4 separate regions of the Homo sapiens genome follow, and regions 1, 2 and 3 are each linked to region 4. The links are contacts of gene promoters, found by promoter capture Hi-C in blood cells and fetal thymus (Javierre and others, 2016). All regions are on one chromosome and are shown on one strand. Each heading gives the region's core, a stretch centred on a gene start or on the middle of the fragment in contact. The rest is flanking DNA. Distances are from core to core; before and after follow the strand shown. Region 1 overlaps PSMA3 (proteasome 20S subunit alpha 3). Region 2 overlaps ARMH4 (armadillo like helical domain containing 4). Region 3 overlaps ACTR10 (actin related protein 10). Region 4 holds the start of TOMM20L (translocase of outer mitochondrial membrane 20 like).

Region 1 (2,700 bases), core at 24-2,523, 130 kb after region 4:
CAAAAATTAGCCAGGTGTGATGGTACAGGCCTGTAATCCCAGCTACTTGAGAGGCTGAGGCACAAGAATCCCTTGAATCCGGGAGGCAGAGGTTACAGTGAGCCAAGATTGCACCACTGCAGTCCAGCCTGGGCAACTGAGCAAGACTCTGTCTCAAAAAAAAAAAAAAATGGTAATAATTTAGGGAAAGCTCTTAGAAATCACATTTAAACCTTCTCTTTAAAAGGGAAGGCAGGGCAAGGTGGCTCACACCTATAATCCCAGCATTTTGGGAGACCAAGGTGGGCGGATTACTTGAGATCAGGAGTTCGAGACCAGCCTGGCTAACATGGTGAAACCTCGTCTCTACTGAAAATACAAAAATTAGCCGGGTGTGGTGATGCATGCTTCTAATCCCAGCCTACTCGGGAGGCTGAGGCAGAATTGCTTGAACTGGGGAGGTGGAGGTTTGGCGCCACTGCACTCCAGTCTGGGTGACAGAGCGAGACGCTGTCTGAAACAAAATTAGGTCCGGCACTGTGGCTCACGCCTGTAATCCTTGCACTTTGGCAGGCCGGGGTGGGCAGACCACCTGAGGTCAGGAGTTGGAGACCAGCTGGCCAACATGGCAAAACCCCATCTGTACTAAAAATACAAAAATTAACCAGGCATGGTAGTACATGCCTGTAATCCCAGCTAATCAGGAGGCTGAGACAGGAGAATTGCTTGAACCTAGGAGGCGGAAGAGGTTGCAGTGAACCAAGATCGAGCCACTGCACTCCAGCCTGGGAGACAGAGTGACACTCCATCTTATAAATAAATAAAATAAAAGGGATGACATGGCTGGACATCGATGCTCACGCCTGTAGTCCCAGCATTTTGGGAGTCCAAGGCAGGAGGACTGCTTAAGGCCAGGAGTTTGAGACCAGCCCTGGGAACGTGGAAAGACCTTGTCTCTATAGACACCAAAAAAATACAAAAATTAGCTAGGCATGGTGGCATGAGCCTGTAGTCCCAGCTACTTGGGAGGCTTAGGTAGGAGGATCGCCTGAGCCCAGGAGTTGAGAGGCTGAAGTGAGCTATGATTGTGTCACTGCACTCCAGCCTGGGCAAGAATGAGGAAAAAAGACATTAAATACAGTTTTAAGACAGTGTTTATAGTAATAAAGGAAAATCACATATTCAAAATACTATATGCACTATACAGTTTCTATAAATAACATACTGAAAAAAAATCTTTCCTCTGCCTCGTATCAGTTATTAATGATAAGAAAACATGGCTGGGCCTGGTGGCTCACACCTGTAATACTCGCACTTTGGGAGACCCAGGTGGGTAGATCTCTTGAGGACTGGAATTCAAGACCAGTCTGGCCAACATGGCAAAGGCCTGTTTCTACTAAAAATAAAAAAAATTAGCCAGGTGGTGCACACCTGTAATCCCAGCTACCCGGGAGGCTGAGGCAGAAGAACTGTTTGAACCTGGGAGGCAGAGGTTGCAGTGAGCTGTGATCACACCACTGTGCTCCAGCCTGGGCCACAGTGAGACCCTGTTCCCCCAAAAAGGAAAAAAAAAAAAATTCTGTTGGACAAGAGGTTGTTGTAAAAAAAAAAAAAAGAAAAATTACTTTCCTTGAATGAGTTTTTTTTTAATTTCATATAATCTTATAATGAGACTTAAATGCTAATGAAATACCATTAAACTAAAATAGAATTTCAAATGATTCAAAATTACTCACGTATGAAACACCTGATGGGTCAATCATGTAGAGTTGCGCACCGTCATTCACACTGTAAGACCCTAACATGAAACTGCATGAAAGTATACAAACAGCTTAAACCATGGCAATAACATAAAAGTATTTGTGAAAAAATTATTTTAAAATGCAGTTATATTTTCTTTCTGAGATAAATTACTAATACACATATAACTCAGTAAGTACTTTGAAACAGTGGTTTCAATTAATTAAAACTATTACATGAGATTATTCAAAATTCATGTAGCTTTTGTTTGTTTAGTATTAATCTTTCTGATGAAGGTCTCCTGGAAAGTCTAGCAGTACAGGGAAAGGAGTAACGATAGATGAAAACCACAACTATGAGAGGGCCCAATAAATAAGGCATAAACACAAAAAGATCAAGGGAACAAAATTCCTGACGGAGAGTATACTGAATCCATGTGAAATTCTTTCCACCCTTCATTCTATTTCCCAATATCCTGCCAATCATTTCTCTGCAATAATCAGAATTGGTTCAGTGTATTTTTCTGTGCTCAACAAATTAGGCTATTAGCTGATTGTATGAAATACTGATTTTCTGAAATTGTGACATACAGTGGGCACTGTTTCCATGAGTTCTGCATCTGTGGATTCAACAAACCACAGATAGAAAACTTTCAAAAAACATTGCTTCTGTACTGAACAACTGTGATTTTCTTGTCATTATTCCCTAAACAATACAGTGTAACAGCTATTTACACTGTGTTAGGTATTGCAAGTAATCTAGAGATGACAACATACAGGAGGATATGCACAGGTTATATGCAAATACTTAACCATTTTATATCAGGGACTTCAGCAACCTTGGATTTTGGTATTCATGGGAGGTCCTAAAACCAATCCCCCACAAATACCAAGGGACAACTATATTTGCCTTAGAGTAGAAAAGAAATCAGCAGCATCTTACACATCATCTTATATGCGGAATATTTTAACTATTCAATTC
Region 2 (2,838 bases), core at 124-2,623, 250 kb after region 4:
CTAGTTGATGGCAACATTATAGGAATATAGAAATATTTGTATTTTTATTTCATGTCATATAGGTGAGGTATGAGAATAAAATCATGGATGAAGAAGGGATTTGAATGATTATTTTAATTCCTCATTTTGTCAAAGGAGAAACTGAGGCCACTTGCTCAGTATCATATAGCAAGTTTCAATGTCAATAAAGCTAAGATTCAGGAATCATTTTTCTGATGCCAGCCCAAGTCCCTCTAAACTCTATTACCATTCATGATGGCCTGGGGCTTTCAGATTTTTATTCAGAAGTATGGGATCATGTGGGCCAAGGTTTTAGGCCACACGTTTAGTAAGATTTCACTGAATAGAAAAAGTATTTGTTTAGGAAGGGGCAGCTATCTGAACAGATCAGAAATGAACCACAGAGTTCTATAGCTTTTATGACTGTTCGACTATATAGATAGAATTTAGTAGGTCAGTTTGTCTGAACAGAAATCCGAAGGTGTAATTTCATTGACTGTCAATTCTCTTGTTTCACAGCTATCATATTTTTTTTGTTTGTTTTTTTTTGAGATGGAGTCTTGTTCTGCCACCCAGGCTGGAGTGCAGTGGTGCGATCTTGGCTCACGGCAAGCTCGGCCTCCTGGGTTCACGCCATTCTCCTGCCTCAGCCTCCCGAGTAGCTGGGACTACAGGCGCCCGCCACCATGCCCGGCTAATTTTTTTGTATTTTTAGTGGAGACGGGGTTTCACCGTGTTAGCCAGGATGGTCTCAATCTCCTGGCCTCGTGATCCACCCGCCTTGGCCTCCCAAAGTGCTGGGATTTCAGGCGTGAGCCACTGCGCCAGGCCTCATATGTTTTGTTGTTGTTGTTGTTGTCTGTTTGTTTTTGAGACAGGGTCTTTTCTCTGTCGCCCAGAATGGAGTGTAGTGGTATGATCACGGCTCACTGCAGCCTTGACTTTCTGGGCTCAAGTGATTCTCCCACCTCAGCCTCCTGAGTAACTAGGACTACTGGTGTGTGCCTGGCTCATTTTGTAGAGATGAGATTTGCCATGTTGCTCAGGCTGGTCTCAAACTCCTGGGCTCAGATGATCCTCCTGCCTTGGCCTCTCAAAGTATTGGGACTACAGGTATGAGCCACTGCACCTGGCCCCTTCATTACGTTTTTGTTTTAAGGAAGGCAAATAGAGGCATCAAGCCAAATTCAGTGATCTGTTACCTGGCTATGAACTAGAGTGCATCCTGGCTCATCTAAAGTACAGTGATAACTAATGTCCAGAATGTTGACATGCTGTGGCACATGCTATTTCCTCTTTATCAAATATCTTTGCCATTTTCTCTTTTTTAAAAAGAACAGTGTGGCCAGGTGTGGTGGCTCACACCTGTAATCCCAGCACTTTGGGAAGCTGAGGTGGGTGGATCGCTTGAGGTCAGGAGTTCTAGATCAGCCTGGCCAACATGGTTAAACCCTGTCCATACTAAAAATACAAAAATTAGCTGGGTGTGATGGTGGGCACCTGTAATCCCAGCTACTTAGGAAATTGAGGCAGGAGAATCACTTCAACCTGGAAGGTGGAGGGAGCAGTGAGCTGAGATCACACCATCAAACTCCGACCTGGGTGACAGAGCAAGACTCTGTCTCAGAAAAAAAAAAAAAAAAAAAAAAAAGAGGATGGGCACGGTGGCTCATGCCTGTAATCCTAGCACTCTGGGAGGTTGAGGTGGGTGGATCACTTGGGGTCAGAAGTTCGAGACCAACCTGGCCAGCATGGTGAAACCCTGTCTCTATTAAAAATACAAAAACTAGCCAGGCATGGTAGTGAGCACCTGTAATCCCACCTATTTGGGAGGCTGAGGCAGGAGAATCACTTGAACCTGGGTGACAGAGGTTGCAGCGAGCCGAGATGGCATCAGTGCACTCCAGCCTGGGCAACAGAGTGAGACTCCATCTCAAAAATAAACATACAAATAAACAAAAACAATGCTAGCTACCAGCATGTAATTTAATATTCAGATATGTTTGTTTCAAACCCCCATCAGCATATGGGGAAACTTAGCACCCGTCTCATTATCCTTGCAGATTGTTTGGGGACTTATGTTTCTTCTAGTCATCTCTGGCTTCAGTTTTCTTCAGCTAAATTTGTAATCCCTGATAGGCTGTTTCTTTTCTGCACATGACACTATTGTACTCGTGCTGTCATTCCATTCCTGTATTTCCCTGCAGCATTGTGGACTCAAGATTTCTGTGTAACAAATTACCCCGTAGCTTAGTGGCTTGAAATAACAATAAATATTTGTTATTTTATACCAGTTCTATGCATCATGAATTTGGGAGTAACTTAGCTGTGTGGTTATGGCACAAAGTCTTTCAAGAAGGTGTAGTCAAGATGTCAGCCAGGGGTGCAGTCATCTGAAGGGTTGACTGGGGCTGCTGGACCCATTTCCAAGATGGTACACTCATGTGGTGGTGGTAGTTGGCAGGAAGCCTTAGCTCTAAATCCATGGATTCCTTTTTTCTCACGTAGAAAAAGTCAGTCTTCTTGTGCTGTGTGGTGGTATGTGCCTGTAGTCCTACCTACTTAGGAGCTTGATGCAGGAGGATTGCTTGAGCCCAGGAGTTCAAGTCCAGCCTGGGGAAAGAAAAAAAGAGAAGAAAGGGAAAGGAAGGGGAGGGGAGCTCACGCTTGTAATTTCAGCACTTTGGGAGGCTGAGGCAGGTGGATCACTTGAAGTCAGGAGTTCAAGACCAGTCTGGCCAACATGGTGAAACCCCGTCTCTAATAAAAATACAAAAATTAGCCAGGCATGGTGGTGCACGCCTGTAGTCCCAGCTACTCGGGAGGCTGAGGCACAAG
Region 3 (2,735 bases), core at 127-2,626, 190 kb after region 4:
TGGAGTCTCGCTCTGTCGCCCAGGCTGGAGTGCAGTGGCGCAATCTCGGCTCACTGCAAGCTTCGCCTCCCGAGTTCACGCCATTCTCCTGCCTCAGCCTCCCAAGTAGCTGGGAATACCAGTGCCTGCCACCATGCCTGGCTAATTTTTTTTTTTTTTTTTAGTAGAGATGGGTTTTCACTGTGTTAGCCAGGATGGTCTCGATCTCCTGACCTCGTGATCTGCCCGCCTCGGCCTCCCAAAGTGCTGCGATTACAGGCGTGTAATCTGCCCAGCCCACAATTTTATTTTTAATATTCCCTAAGACAGCCTCCAGCCACACTCAGCTGCCTGCCAATCCTATTTAAATTTTGTGGAGGCATCAATTATTGTTTTTGCTAGTCCTCTGATTACAAAGTTACACAGGTTTTATATGGACTACCTCAAGCTTATTTTTCCCATAAGCCTGTTTTGTTTTGTTTTTTAAAAATGTACCATTTTGCAGAACAAAGGTATTTTCTGGAATGCATATATAATGTTACTGTGGTAACAGCTACATCTCATTTTTTAACAAGTGAATTTTATAACATGCAAAATCATTCTTTCTACTGGTTGTAATTTCTAATCTGCCAAATTAGCTGTGGCAAGAAACTTTTTGAAAGTTTGTTTTCAAAATTCTCTGGGTTTTGAAACTGTAAATAAGGGAATAAATATCTGATATATTATAAATAATAAAATAATTCAGTGGTTATAAGACTTATAAAAGTATTTTACTGAAGTTAAAATTTTTCTCTTGATATATGATTCCATTTACATAAAATGTACAGAAAAGACAAATCTATAGAAACAGAAGGTACACCCTAATGGGCTGAGGATAGGAATGAGGATTAATTGTAAACGGGTATTAGGGATTTTACTGGGGTGATGAAAACATTCTAAAACTGGATTGTGGTGGTACTTGTACAACATGATATACTTATGGTGTGCAAAATTAGACCTTGATAAAGTTGATTTAAAAAGAAAAACTTTTCCTTGGAAATATAGCCACAAAGTATATATTTAGTACTGTTTCTTGTTTCTTTTTTTTTTTTTTTTTTTGAGACGAAGTCTTGCTCTTGCCCCCCAGGCTGGAGTGCGATGGCTTGATTTTGGCTCACTGCAACCTCCGCCTCCCGGGTTCAAGCAATTCTCCTGCCTCGGCCCCCTGAGGAGCTGGGATTAGAGGTGCCTGCCACCACTCCCGGCTAATTTTTGTATTTTTAGTTGAGACAGGGTTTCACCATGTTGTCCAGGCTGGTCTCAAACTCCTGATCTCAGGTGATCCACCCGCCTCAGCCACCCAAAGTGTTGGGATTACAGGCGTGAGCCACCACGGCTGGCCTTTAGTACTGTTTTAATCAATCTTACTTGAAGTCATATTTTAAAACATTTTATAGTATGGCATTTATTTTGCTAATATTTTTTTTTAAATACCTTAGGCATCCCAGCTCTTTTTATCACACTAGGAATTATACATCTTGGACCAGTTTCTCCAGCAAATCCACACCTGCAAATAAATGGAAAATTGAAACAACTTATAGTATTCTTTTAAATATTTGTCACAGAAACTAATTTTCTCTGTATTTGTTTCAAAACAATGGCCACAATAACATTTGAAAATACCTGATGTATTTTAAGGGATCAAAAAAAATCACTCCACAAAACTAATAATACTATTTATTAATGCTTGTGTATTAACAGAAAAAAATTCTATGAAATTCGTGATGCTGAAAAAAACAAATGTATTATTTTAGGGCAGCATTTACTTTTTTTTTTTTGAGATGGAGTCTGGCTCTGTCACCCAGGCTGGAGTGCAGTGGCGCGATCTCGGCTCACTGCAAGCTCCGCCTCCCGGGTTCACGCCATTCTCCTGCCTCAGGCTCCTGAGTAGCTGGGACTACAGGTGCCGGCCACCACGCAGGGCTAATTTTTTTTTTTTTTTTTAGTAGAGACGAGGTTTCACCGTGTTAGCCAGGATAGTCTCGATCTCCTGACCTCGTGACCCGCCCGCGTCGGCCTCCCAAAGTGCTGGTATTACAGGCGTGGGCCACCGCGCCTGGCCAACTTTTTTCCTAGTTGTTAATTTTAGCAGAATTTAGGCAAGACATATCTACAACTCTGAATCTGTACTACATTATGTGACTTCATTCATATAATTCATCTGTATCACTCATAATTCCATCATTCTAATATTGTTAGCTTCCATATTGGTGTATTCACTTTCAGTCTACTTCTTATGATTATGCATATATATTTGACATAGTTTTAATCACACTTCATACATAATTAACTCATACAGTAAGCTTCTGCCCATATTAACATAATCTTCATTGCTATCACTTTTTTTTTTTTTTTTTTTGAGGCAGGGTCTCGCTCTGTCGCCCAGGCTGGAGTGCAGTGGCACAAACTCAGATCACTGCAGCCTCCGCTTCCCAGGCTCAAGCGATCCTCCCCCCTTGGCCTCCCAAAGTGCTAGGATTTCGGGCACGACACTACCGCCGGCTAAATTTTGTATTTTGTGTAGAGCTGGGTTTCCCCATGTTGCCCAGGCTGGTCTTGAACTACTGGGCTCAAGTGGTCAGCCCGCCTCAGCTTTCCAAACTGCTGGAATTACAGTATTATTTTTAAAACCACATATTTCATTATTTTAAAAACGATGCTCTTTTCTTGAGTATTTAGGTATTTCCATTTTTGTTTCATGTTAGTAAAACAAAAAT
Region 4 (2,772 bases), core at 228-2,727:
CCTCTCCCTTTAAATTGAGTAGGCTTCAATGTTGCCAGAAGTGGTACCATCTGCTCTTCCACATGGGCACATGTTCTAGTTCACATGCATGTGCGTGCTCTCTCTATACACAGACACACACACACACACATATATATACACACATACATATATGTGTTTGCTTGTCCCTTGGGACACAGCCCATCACACAAATGAAGAATCCCAGATCACACAGACGTGTAGGTGCTCTGGCTAACAATCTCAGCTAAGTAAACATCCAGCATCAACTGCGGATTGCTTGTGGCCAGGAGTTCTAGTTCAGCCTGGGCAACATAGGAACACCCTTGTCTCTTTCTTTTTTTATAGACAGTGTCTTGCTCTGTCGCCCAGGCTGCAACTGCCACCTCCCGGACTCAAGCAATTCTCCTGCCTCAGTCTCCCAAGTAGCTGAGACTACAGGCACACGCCACCACTCCCGGCTAATTTTTGTATTTTTAGTAGAGACAGGCTTTCACCATGTTGGCCAGGCTGGTCTCAAACTCCTGACCTCACGTGATCTGCCCGCCTTGCCTCCCAAAGTGCTGGGATTACAGGCGTGAGCCACCAAGCCCGGCCCGCCTCTTAAAAACAACAAAAAAGGGACTAATCAAATTTTGCCGCAGAGATTTACAAAACACGAAGATGCCTTCTGCTTCTGAGCTACAAGAAAGGCCCTGCGGGAGAACAATCTAGAAGTTACTGCCATGTGACCGTGGCCAGCCTGGGTTTTTAAGTGTCCTGTGCGGCTCTGACAGGGCAAAAGGCTCCTCTTCCTTCTTCCAGTTAAAAGAAGTGCCTGTTGTACAGTGTTTTGCTTTGCAGCTGCCTTTTTATAACTCCAACTTCTTCCTCCTTCCTTCCCTCCCTTTTGTGAGAGGAGAGTGACTGGGCCTGAGGCGGTGCGTGGCGCGCGAGGGCAGGCCTCTTCCCGGGCACGGGCGGCTGAGGGAACTAACTACCTGCTGCCGAGCCCGCCAGGAGCCAAGCAACCCAGCGAGCCCGGACCTGCGTCTACTGAGCTACCTGTGCGGATCGAAAGCACTGCACCTGCGTGCCCTGCTCCTCAGCCTTTTGAGGCTCTGCTCTTCTTTCTGCGAACACAACACGGCACATGCTGGCTGGGAGGCCCGTCCAGAGGCACGCGTGGGCCCAGTGGTCCTGCCTGCCCGGGCGCCGCGGGCCCCTCGGCAGAGGCTGAGGCACTCACGGCCCGGCCTCTCAGTGGGGGGCCCTCCCGGCCGGCAGCCCGCCCGCGCTGCCCGGCCCGGCCGCGCCTCCGCCTCGGTCCCACTCACTGTCCCGCAGGCGGCGCTTGAACGCGGGGTCCCCGCGCCGCTTCCGGTTGAGGTAAATACAATAGCCCAGGAAGGCGAAGGCGCCACAGGCCGCCGCGGCGGCCAAGAGGCGGAGGAGGGAGCGGACGGAGGGCATCCGACCGCGGGCGTCCCACAAGCCGAGCGTTGGGCGCGGGCCGGCCGGCAGGGGGCGTCGGCGCGGCGGCCCATCCGGCCTCGGGGCCTCCTGCGCACCCAGCTGCGCGTTGACGCCTCGCACCCAGGCTTGCGGACCGATGAGGAAGCCGAGCGTTCGAGAGGGTGTGTGCGGGAGCCCTCACAGCCACAGAGTAGCAGAGCTCTGTTCGAACCTACGTCTGTCGCACTCCAAATTCTGAACCCTTTCTCCAAACACGCCTCTGCCCCTGTGTCTACAACACCCATTCAGGCAAAGCACAGTATGCTGCGAATCTGCTTTACTGGGAGCCAGTGGTCGTTTAGGTCTCTGTTCCCTCACCTGCAAAATTAAGTTGACTCTAAGGTCAACTTTGGTCACCTCCTAGTTCACATTGTCTAACAGTAGCCCGTACTCCCCAATCTGGTATCCTTTGTCTCCTGAAAGGACCCAGCAGTCCAAGGTCCAAGGGAGGAATTCAGAAGCAACACTGTTTAATCTAGAAAAATACGTTAAATTGCTGGGCTGAGACTGACAGTCAAAGGTCCCAAAGCAAAAACAACTGAGAGTCCCATGATACTGGCCTAGCTGCTTTTCTAATATTTGCCTTACTCAGCGGACACAGCAGAAAGAAAGAAGGTAAGACTTTGTCCTAAATACCAGAGTTCTGACTTTTCTACTAAGGAGGAGAAAAGGCATAAGCTAGGGACCTAAAGAACTAGATAATTCATTTTTATTTAGGTTATACAATTGCTATTTACTGATTTACAATTTACTGTTATTACTAGTGTGTGCATAGCAAGGTGCTCATCACTGCTCTGAATACCAGTGGGTCTAGCTAGGTGCAGTGGCTCACAACTGAAATCCCAACACTTTGGGAGGCTGAGGTGGGAGGATCACTTGAGCTCAGGACTTGGAGACCAACCAGCCTGGGCAACATTGCAAGAACCCATCTCTAAAAAAACAAAACAAGGGCCGGGCACAATGGCTCATGCCTGTAATCCCAGCACTTTGGGAGGCCGAGGCAGGCAGATCACAAGGTCAAGAGTTCGAGACCAGCCTGGCCAACATGGTGAAACACTGTCTCTACTAAGAATACAAAAATTAGCTGGGTGTGGTGGCATGTGCCTGTAATCCGTTACTTGGGAGGCTGAGACAGGAGAACTGCTTGAATCCGGGAGGCGGAGGTTGCAGTGAGCTGAGATTGTGTCACTGTACTCCAGCATGGGCAACAGAGCAAGACTCCGTCTCGATAAAACAAAACAAAAAAATACTGGTCGTGGTGTGCACCTGTAGCCCTAGCTA

The links. Contacts are between HindIII fragments. The CHiCAGO score rates a contact against its expected background, and 5 or more counts as called.
Region 1: a fragment that was not itself captured here is called in contact with the fragment with the promoter of TOMM20L in region 4 in 1 of 17 cell types (erythroblasts); the score reaches 5.1 in erythroblasts.
Region 2: a fragment that was not itself captured here is called in contact with the fragment with the promoter of TOMM20L in region 4 in 1 of 17 cell types (naive CD8 T cells); the score reaches 6.4 in naive CD8 T cells.
Region 3: a contact is called between a fragment that was not itself captured here and the fragment with the promoter of TOMM20L in region 4, in 4 of 17 cell types (naive CD8 T cells, total CD4 T cells, total CD8 T cells and 1 more). The highest score is 6.3, in naive CD8 T cells.

What each region holds. Positions count from the first base shown.
Region 1 is chr14:58,260,036-58,262,735 of GRCh38, reverse strand. It overlaps PSMA3 (proteasome 20S subunit alpha 3), which reads right to left. Exons shown (of 11, transcript NM_002788.4): 6 at 1,716-1,788. Among named protein-coding and RNA genes, the nearest start is that of PSMA3, 17 kb to the right of the region's middle. The HindIII fragment of the contact is 4,600 bases long and covers 1-2,700 here.
Region 2 is chr14:58,142,579-58,145,416 of GRCh38, reverse strand. All of the region lies in intron 1 of ARMH4 (armadillo like helical domain containing 4), which reads left to right. Among named protein-coding and RNA genes, the nearest start is that of ARMH4, 8.2 kb to the left of the region's middle. The HindIII fragment of the contact is 3,451 bases long and covers 1-2,838 here.
Region 3 is chr14:58,201,645-58,204,379 of GRCh38, reverse strand. It overlaps ACTR10 (actin related protein 10), which reads right to left. Exons shown (of 13, transcript NM_018477.3): 2 at 1,453-1,525. Among named protein-coding and RNA genes, the nearest start is that of ACTR10, 2.9 kb to the right of the region's middle. The HindIII fragment of the contact is 1,894 bases long and covers 430-2,323 here.
Region 4 is chr14:58,394,635-58,397,406 of GRCh38, reverse strand. It overlaps TOMM20L (translocase of outer mitochondrial membrane 20 like), which reads right to left and starts at 1,477. Exons shown (of 5, transcript NM_207377.3): 1 at 1,314-1,477; 2 at 1,066-1,109. The coding sequence starts at 1,449. TOMM20L-DT (TOMM20L divergent transcript) reads left to right here and starts at 1,702. Exons shown (of 2, transcript NR_187161.1): 1 at 1,702-2,106. RefSeq lists silencers at 1,030-1,079, 1,150-1,669. The HindIII fragment of the contact is 7,740 bases long and covers 1-2,772 here.